Linked DNA regions of Homo sapiens: all the other regions are linked to region 3. Evidence: promoter capture Hi-C in 16 types of primary human blood cells and fetal thymus (Javierre and others, 2016). All regions are on one chromosome and are shown on one strand. The core of a region is centred on a gene start or on the middle of the fragment in contact, and the rest is flanking DNA. Distances in the headings are between cores, read along the strand shown. Region 1 overlaps DST (dystonin). Region 2 overlaps LINC00680 (long intergenic non-protein coding RNA 680). Region 3 holds the start of BAG2 (BAG cochaperone 2).

Region 1 (2,966 bases), core at 443-2,942, 660 kb after region 3:
AATTCAGGGTTTATTACATCATTGTTTGGAATATGTGACATCTTGTTAATCTTGTTTGTTTACCTTTTTAATGAATTGGCATTGAAGACTATACTGAAGTATTTATTTAAAAGAGAGTTTTAGAGACCACACTTTAACTTTATTTAATATAGAACAGGAATCTTATGGAGTTCTATCTAAATGATTCAGCAGGAGAAAGACAAGTATGTAGAATTCAATTTTTGTATAAAGATTTATTTGTGGCAGAAATCTGATATCTACTTACTGAATTATTTTAAATGAAAAATGTTTCATGGATTTCTATGCTGAGGTGATTTGAATAGCCACATTTTTAGCATAGCATCAAATAGTATGGAAAGGCTCATTATTGAGCTGAAATTTTAAAAATTGAGTTTTTTTGCCTTTTTGCATAATCTTTAAGCTCTCAAAACAAATTTGTGATTGTCTGTATAAAGGGAGGTACAAAACTTTGTAGCCACATCTTCAAATTGTTTAAACTAAAAGCTTTGCTGTTGCAGAATATTTGTAGCCTCCTAGGATGGCATTTCTTTTCCAGCTCTACAGCATCTTCTCCATGTATTTTGGGGGAAAATCTAGTTCATTCTAGCCAGGAATGAAAAATGGCTCCAAGGGCCATGTTACCACATGATAGATATCAAGTCACACCAGATAGCTCCAGCATGACTGGACTCCTATGACAGCATGTGCCAAGAATCATTTTGTCACATATAAGGCAAAAGGCATCTCCTTTTGGGCCCTTTTCTGATACACACACATACCTGAGTAGATGGCTGGTAGGTGTTCTCTTGCCTGTCATGGAATGGTTTAAGAAGGGTTTAAAAAAGGCTCCTCGGCCAGGCACAGTGGCTCATGCCTGTAATCCCAGCACTTTGGGAGGCCGAGGCAGGTGGATCACCTGAGGTCGGGAGTTTGAGACCAGCCTGACCAACATGGAGAAACCCTGCCTCTACTAAAAATACAAAATTAGTCAGATGTGGTGACTCACGCCTGTAATCCCAGCAGTTTGGGAGGCCGAGGCAGGTGGACCACCTGAGGTCAGGAATTCGAGACCAGCCTGACCAACATGGAGAAACCCCATCTCTACTAAAAATACAAAATCAGTTGGGCATGGTGGTGCATACCTATAATCCCAGCTACTTGGCATGCTGAGGCAGGAGAATCACTTGAACCTGGGAGGCGGAGGTTGTGGTGAGCCAAGATCGTGCCACGGCACTCCAGCCTGGGCAACAAGAGCAAAACTCTGTCTTAAAAAAAAAAAAAAAGGCTCCTCTCACTACTTGCCAAGCCAAGTTGCCTTATAGTGATGCTATACAGGTGAGATCTACCTAGACCCAAAGGAACTCCAGAAATATCAGCAGAGATGTAGCATTTTATTTGAGAGTCTCTTGATAACTCTTGAGTGAAAGCTTGTTTTCCAAGCATTCCTGAAAGAACATTGACAGGAGAACGTATGTAACATCTTCAGTTTTCCTTTTCCATGAGATTATCTATAGCTGATATACCATCACCACCTCCATTCGGTAAAGCAGCATGAAGATACCTAATTATGCCAAATAAAAATAAAAACTTGGCCTGGGACGCCCAGGAGCTAGATTGCAAACATGGCCCTCCCACATTCTTATGTGCAGCATGCTATATTAGACTCTTCCTTCTTTTAAAATTGAATTCATCTTTATTTAGCCCTTTCTAAAACTATTTTGAGGCAGTCTTTTGAAAACCTTCAAAAACATTTTATTACATTGGTGATAGTTAATGATGTAATTCCTCAACAGGTTCTCAAAATAATGCTCATAATTGATTTTAGTAGACACTTTCAATAAAAATCTAGGTATGTGGCCATCCTGGTGACTGATAGAAATTAGAGTTTGCAGGAAAAGATTGGTAGCTTATCTCTAGACCATCTTTCCTGAAAGTAAGATTCCCCAGAGAAGCTTTTGTGAGGGGCTGGAGTTTGGAGATACACATTCTGGTGAGGACAAAGAGCTGCTGATGAGGGAACCTAATCAATAATGTGGTGCAAATGAAAGACCCCTCAATGCTGCACAGAGGCCAGCCTCAGAAAAACCTGCAAGCAAAGGCAGATCTTCCCCCTGGGGGTGGCTTTGGTTTTGACCCATGAAAAACTGCTCATTGAAATCCATGGGATCCATGAGGTGTATGTATTCTAGCTTTATTCAGGCTTCCAACACATCTTCTCTATTAAAGGGAATGGGGATCCACTTGAATTCTACACCCACGCACTAGTATAAATATCATTGTATTTCTTGATTAGCTAGCAAAATTATGCACATTCATATGACATGTGTTTTTCCTTAAATATACCTTACAAACAATGCTCAGTATATAGCTGTGTATTGATAGATTGCCCTTGCAGCCTTTAATATTTTAAAATAATGAATATAGATTCATTCATATGTGTGTCTATATATCATATATATATAGAATAGATTCATACATAAATATAAAATGTAATACATGTTCATTCATTTTATATCAGTCCGCATATATAAATGCAATGCCTTGTGGGCTTACATCACCCTAACATTCCTTATCTTGAGGTTTTGTCTCAGCATTGCATCTAACTTATATTGAGCTTCTTTCTATTCTTTTTTCTTCCTTCCCTTCTCCCTCCTTCCCCCCGTCTTGTCTCTCTCTCTCTCTCTTTTTCTTTCTTCTATTTTTGTATATATCATGAGTGTGCAGAAAGGAACACCATCAGATATGACTTGGTGTCTGTAGGTTGGGGACATAGCGAGTTCAGAATACTTTTATATAATATGACCCTAGGCTAATGCTCTTGTCAAAATGTGCTACTCTTGGTATGAGATGCATAATAAACTGGGATTCATTATTTCACTGAACCAGCATCTTTGTACCCTAAAGGGTCTTTGGTGTGACCAGACTGTTGTTTAATCTTTGTGTCAGGACCTTCTCTTCCTGGCAAA
Region 2 (2,723 bases), core at 103-2,602, 780 kb before region 3:
CTGTTTCCCCTTTCAGATGATTTCGAAGCAAATCTTGGACATCATTTTACTCATAAATATTTTTGTATATACCTTAAAACGATAAGGATTGTTTTAAAAAAAGCTTAGCCAAGATATGTGTAAGAGATAGGAAAAACCAAGTTGTTTCCTATCCTCTCACACTCCTCTCAGTACTTTCCCCTCCTTTTTTTTTTTTTTTTTTTTTTAAATTTGAGACAGGGTCTCACTGCTGTTGCTTAGACAGGTGCGCAGTGGCATGACCTTGCCTCACTACAGACTCCACTTCCCGGGCTCAGGTAATCCTCCCACCTCAGCCTCCCAAATAGTTGGGACTATAGGTTGGTGCTACCACACCCCACTAATTTTTTGTATTTTTAGTTGAGATAGATTTCACCATGTTGGCTGGGTGAGGTGGCTCATGCCTGTAATCCCAGCACTTTGGGAGGGGCGGATCACGAGGTCAGGAGATTGAGACCATCCTGGCTAACATGGTGAAACCCCGTCTCTACTAAAAATACAAAAAATTAGCTGGGTGTGGTGGCGGGTGCCTATAGTTCCAGCTACTTGGGAGGCTGAGGCGGGAGAATGGCGTGAACCCCAGAGGCAGAGCTTGCAGTGAGCCGAGATCTTGCCACTGCACTCTAGCCTGGGCGACAGAGTGAGACTCTTGTCTCAAAAAAAAAAAAAAAAATTCACCATGTTGTCCAGGCCAGTCTTGAATTCCTGGGCTCAAGTGATCCACCTGTCTTGGCCTCCCAAAGTGCTAGGATTACAGGTGTGAACCAGTACTTTATTTCTGACACCAGATATGTAGGAGTTTTCCCCCACACATCAACCAGTTCTCCAACTGGGTATCCGGTAACTCACTTTAATTCTGACACCGTCTGCCTGGAGACTACCACAAGACTGCCTTCACTCAGACACTAATCTCAATTCACAGGTTGTGACCAGTGCTTCTAATCTACTGGCTATAAGTCAGGGTTCCCATGACCACTCTTTTTGCTTTGATAATTAGCTAGGACGGCTCACAGGGAAACACTTTACTTATGTTTAACAGTTTATTATAAAGAATATTATAAATGATACAGATGAACAGCCAGATGAAGTAATGCATTGGGCAAGGTATGCGGTGGGAGAGGTGCAGAGCTTCTGTGCCCTCTCTGGGTGCACCAACTCCCCAGCATCCCCCTGTGTTCAACTACCCTGAAGCTAATCACATCTAGTGGTTCAGGAGTGTCTAGGCTGGGTGCAGTGGCTCACACCTATAATCCCAGCACTTTGGGGGACCAAGGTAGGAGGATCACTTGATCCCAGGAGTTTGAGACAAACCTGGGCTAACACAGTGAGATCCCGTTCAAAAAATCTTATAAAAATTAGCTGGGCATGGCGGCGCACACCTGTAGTCCCAACTACTTGGGAGGCTGAGGTGAGAGGGTCACTTGAGCCCAGAGGTTGAGGCTGCAGTGAGCTATGATCATGCCACTGCATCACAGCCTGAGTAAAAAAGCAAGAGCCTGTCTCAAAAAAAAAAAAAAAAAAAAAATTTCTATAGATCTTAATTTCCAGCTTCCCCAGAGATTGGTGGGTGGGGATGAAAGTTCCAATTATCTAACCCGTCAGTTTTTTTAGTGAGCAGCAGTCCCATCCTGAGGCCTAGGGATCCCACACTAAGTCACTTCAATAGCATAAATTTAGGTGGGATCCAAAGGGGCTTCTAATGAATAACAAAAGACAGCTCCTATCACTCAGGAAATTCCAAGGGTTTCAGAAGCTGTGTGGCAGGAACCTGAAACAAAGACCAAATATATATATATATTTTTGAGACAGAGTCTCGCTCTGTCGCCCAGACTGGAGTGCAGTGGTGTGATCTCGACTCACTGCAAGCTCCGCCTCCCGGGTGCACGCCATTCTCCTGTCTCAGCCTCCTGAGTAGCTGGGACTATAGGCACCGGGCACCATGCCTGGCTAATTTTTTTTTTTTTTTTTTGTATTTTTAGTAGAGACAGGGTTTCACCCTGTTAGCCAGGATGGTCTCGATCTCCTGCCCTCATGATCCGCCCCCCTCAGCCTCCCAAAGTGCTGGGATTACAGGAGTGAGCCACCGCACCTGGCCAAATATATTTCATATTATGCCACAATATCATCACATCAAAAAACAATTTTAATATCCTCAAACGATAGACAAAGACATGCTATCTGAGGCATTTACAAATGTTTTAAACAATTTAGTGAATGTTTGTACTATCACAGTATAGGTACCTTGTATTTGCCATTTTAAGCATATAATACAACATGTTTTGAACAAGGATTGTCTTATTTGGCTATGTCGGCTTTTTGTTGTTATTTACTTATTTATTTTTTTGAGTTGCCCAGACTGGAGGGCAATAGTGTAATCTAGGCTCACTGCAACCTCTGCCTCCTGGTTCAAGCAATTTTCCTGCCTCAGCCTCCCCAGTAGCTGGGATTATAGGCACGTGCCACCACCACCTGACTAACTTTTGTATTTTTAGTAGAGACAGGGTTTCACCATGTTGGCCAGGCTGATCTCAAACTCTTGAAGTCAAGTGATCCGCCTGCCTCAACCTCCCAAAGTGAAGCTTTTTATTTTTAATTTTTTTATTTTCAATTTTTGTGGGTACATAGTAGATGTATATATTTGTGGGTATGTAAGTTTTATAGCCCCTGGTACTTTGCTTTGTAAAATAGGTTCTCAGTAATATTTT
Region 3 (3,125 bases), core at 121-2,620:
ATTTACACAGTAACTTGAGACAAACGTTCACAGGAAGTAGATAAAACTTTTCAATACACCGTTAAAGTCTTTCCAAAAATCTATTAACATTAAATTGTTTAGAAATTCTATACAAGTCTACTACTGTATTACCAAATAAATTCTTAAGCAAGAAAAGGGGAAAACTATCTTTTCATGCTTTCAGGCCAGTAACTAGCACTTAGTCTTCTATGTAGGGAGGTGCCCAATAAATACCGAGAGACGAACGGAACCGCTGAATCCCGTCCGCGAGGTTAGGGGAGAAACAGAAGCGGCAACGTCTCTGCTGCACGAAGCACCCGGTAACTTACTGCCTACCCCTCACTCCTGTCTAATCTTTGCTCTCAATGGATTGCTGGGTTGGTTTTGTTTTATTCATTTTTGTTCTGAAGCAAGGAAACTTAACTTCACGTGGAGGGCCACTGTAAACTGCTGCCTCCCTTAAAAAATGCATAACGAGAAGAGTAAGTTAAAACGTTTGGGGCCACACAGAAGGTTCTAGAAGTTCTGCAGACCCAAGCTGCCACAGTCCTTAATCGCATGGAATCTCACTGTAACTTTTATCTCCTCTGATTTTTTTCCGCTCCCTAACACCTAGGTAAATTAATCAAAGTGTGGCCACCGATAACGCCCTCACAGGTTTAGCTTAAATCGAATGCGTTTTCTCTCGGACTAGGGGAGATAATCCAAGAAACAAACAAAACTACACCACGTCCATCCACAACAAATCTCAACAAGCAACTTCGGTTGCCGCAGCCTCACTGTGCCCCAGGCCCCGGCCCGCCACACGCGGCCTCCGTCCGCTAACCGCCCGCGAACCGCCCGCGCGGCGAGCAGAACGCCCGAGACCGCCCGCCCGGAGCTCACCTGAGCTCCAGCTGGTCCAGGCTCTCCAGCAGGCGGCTGGAGCGGTCAGCCATGGAGGAGGAGCGGCAGAAGCGCCCCTCGTTGGCTTTAGCGTTGATCTTCGCCTGAGCCATCTAAGCCTCCGACGCGGGGTAGCCAAGAGGTCACCGGCCCCTCCGGCGGCAGCGAGTGGAGCGCTCCTTGGGCTGCAGGCGTCGCCGTCACCACGCGGGCGCCCGCCCTCCCTCTGACGCCCGCGGGGGCAACCCGGGAGGACTCGCCGACACCGCGGCTGCAGCGTAGCCAAAGAAGGGCAGGCGCGGCGCCCGCGGGGCTCGGGGACGCCGGGCCTGGGAGGGGGCTGCAGCGGCTGGAGTTAGAGGTTCGCGAGCCACACGGGCTCGAGGATGGGCCGACAGGGGCTCGGGCCTGGGGAGCGCAAGTCTCTGAGGCACGGGAGGGGCGGACGCAGAGACCGAGCGCCTAATGTGGCTAGCGGATCGTCTGCTCCCCGGACCCAGGAACTACCCGAAGCCCGCGCGGACCCACAGACCACCCCCAGCTCCGCCCCGCGAGGCCCCGCCTCTTCATGCAACCTAAAAGTAACCAACTCCCCCCACGCGAAGGTTCCTATCGGTCGACGGGCTGTGGGTGTATTGCTCAGTGACGGCTTCGTTTAGTTTCTCCCAGCACCCATAATTCAAAGCAAGAACAACGACATTATGGGGAGAAAACGTCCTTTTGTGAAACAGAAGGCAGTAAGTACAGCTCGTAGGCAGCCCACACTCACCTGACCTTCCTGTTACCACTTTATACTGAGATGAGAGTAATGAAAGCCCGGACAACACTGAAGCTATGAAGTAAAAAAGAAAAAGCTACTCCATCTTTCCCTGTCTAGCTAGATGTGGGAAGCAAAGTGAATTTACTTCATTTTTACCATTCTAATTTTCTTTTGTTTTTGAGATGGGGTCTAACTGTCGCCCACGTTGGAGTGTAGTGGCGCGATCACGACTTACTGCAGCCTCGACCTCCCGGGTTCAAGCGGTCCTCCCACCTCAGCCTCCCAAAGTGCTGGGATTACAGATGTGAACCACCACGCCTGGCTTAATGAAGGGGTTTTAAATTTTTGCTATTAAAATTATTCCTGTTGAGCGAGCCGAGATCTCGCCACTGCACTCCAGCCTGGGCGATAGAGCGAGACCTTGTCTCAAAAAAATAAATAAATAAATAAATATTCTGAGTGAAATAATTGGCATTAAAAAGTCCTCAACTTTTAAAAATCCTGTTAACAAAAAAGATGCAGTAGGCCTCTAGGTCAGGCACCAGCTGTCGGTAAAAGACGGAATAGAGCTGAGGATACAAAGATTAGTCTACTTAAAAAGTTAGGCTTTAGTCCCCTCTCCTGATAGCTCTATGCCTCTCATTGCAAGGATGACAATGTACAGGGCACAGAAAATGATAGATAATAATAGTTTAAAGCTGAGCCACCACCTTTAATCAGAGATCAAAGCCATTTAAATACTTGAACAGAGTTGAAGCCCTTAAGGCTGGATCCCAATTCCCTCTGAACTCATTTTAAATCCTAATTAACTCTTGGGGTAGGGGATTATTTGACCTTATTAAAAATAACTTTATCATGACACAAACGAAAACAAAACACATTTTGTGAGTGGTTTGAAAGTCTATCAAGTGACTTTAGAATCATCCTGAACTCTTTTTCTCTCTTATCCTAGATCCACACCATTAGTAAACCCCATCAATTTTGCCTTCAGAATATATCCAGATTCTTCCCAATTCTACCGCCACCATTCTGGTTCAAGCTACCTGGTGAGTTTGCACCTGGAATACTACAATACCTTCCTCTCTGGTCTCCCTGCTTCTACTCTTGCCTCTCATGTACATGTTATCTCAGTGCAGCAACTACAGCAATCCTAAATAAGGCAGATCATACCATTTATTCTCAGAAACCTTCACTGGCTCCTTACCTCAAAGTAAAAGCCCAGGTCATTAGAAAAACCTCAGTAAGTTCATTTCCTATTACTCTCCTAGCTCATCCTGTCAGCCATACTAGTCTTCTTGCTTTTCCTTGAATATACTAAGCTCCTGTCTGGACCTTAACCTCCTCCACCTGGAACTCTCTTCCCGATATGTATTTTCATCCTCATTCCCTCACCTTCTTCAGGTCTTTGCTCAAGTTTACCTATCAGTGAGATCTTTTCTGACAACCCTATTAAAAATAGCAAGCCTCCCCCCAACTCCCT

The links. The method cuts DNA at HindIII sites, captures the fragments that hold promoters and counts their contacts. A CHiCAGO score of 5 or more calls a contact.
Region 1: a fragment that was not itself captured here is called in contact with the fragment with the promoter of BAG2 in region 3 in 1 of 17 cell types (erythroblasts); the score reaches 7.0 in erythroblasts.
Region 2: a fragment that was not itself captured here is called in contact with the fragment with the promoter of BAG2 in region 3 in 4 of 17 cell types (non-activated CD4 T cells, naive CD8 T cells, total CD8 T cells and 1 more); the score reaches 9.3 in non-activated CD4 T cells.

Annotation. Positions count from the first base shown.
Region 1 is chr6:56,511,550-56,514,515 of GRCh38, reverse strand. The region is part of intron 72 of DST (dystonin); the gene reads left to right. Among named protein-coding and RNA genes, the nearest start is that of COL21A1, 270 kb to the right of the region's middle. The HindIII fragment of the contact is 525 bases long and covers 1,430-1,954 here.
Region 2 is chr6:57,953,998-57,956,720 of GRCh38, reverse strand. All of the region lies in intron 2 of LINC00680 (long intergenic non-protein coding RNA 680), which reads left to right. It also overlaps the pseudogene LINC00680-GUSBP4. Among named protein-coding and RNA genes, the nearest start is that of LINC00680, 6.1 kb to the left of the region's middle. The HindIII fragment of the contact is 2,494 bases long and covers 106-2,599 here.
Region 3 is chr6:57,170,571-57,173,695 of GRCh38, reverse strand. It overlaps BAG2 (BAG cochaperone 2), which reads right to left and starts at 1,370. Exons shown (of 3, transcript NM_004282.4): 1 at 886-1,370. The coding sequence starts at 998. ZNF451-AS1 (ZNF451 regulatory antisense RNA 1) reads left to right here and starts at 1,483. Exons shown (of 4, transcript NR_110742.1): 1 at 1,483-1,622; 2 at 2,598-2,691. RefSeq lists an enhancer at 466-1,223 and silencers at 958-1,227, 1,278-1,357. The HindIII fragment of the contact is 6,211 bases long and covers 1-3,125 here.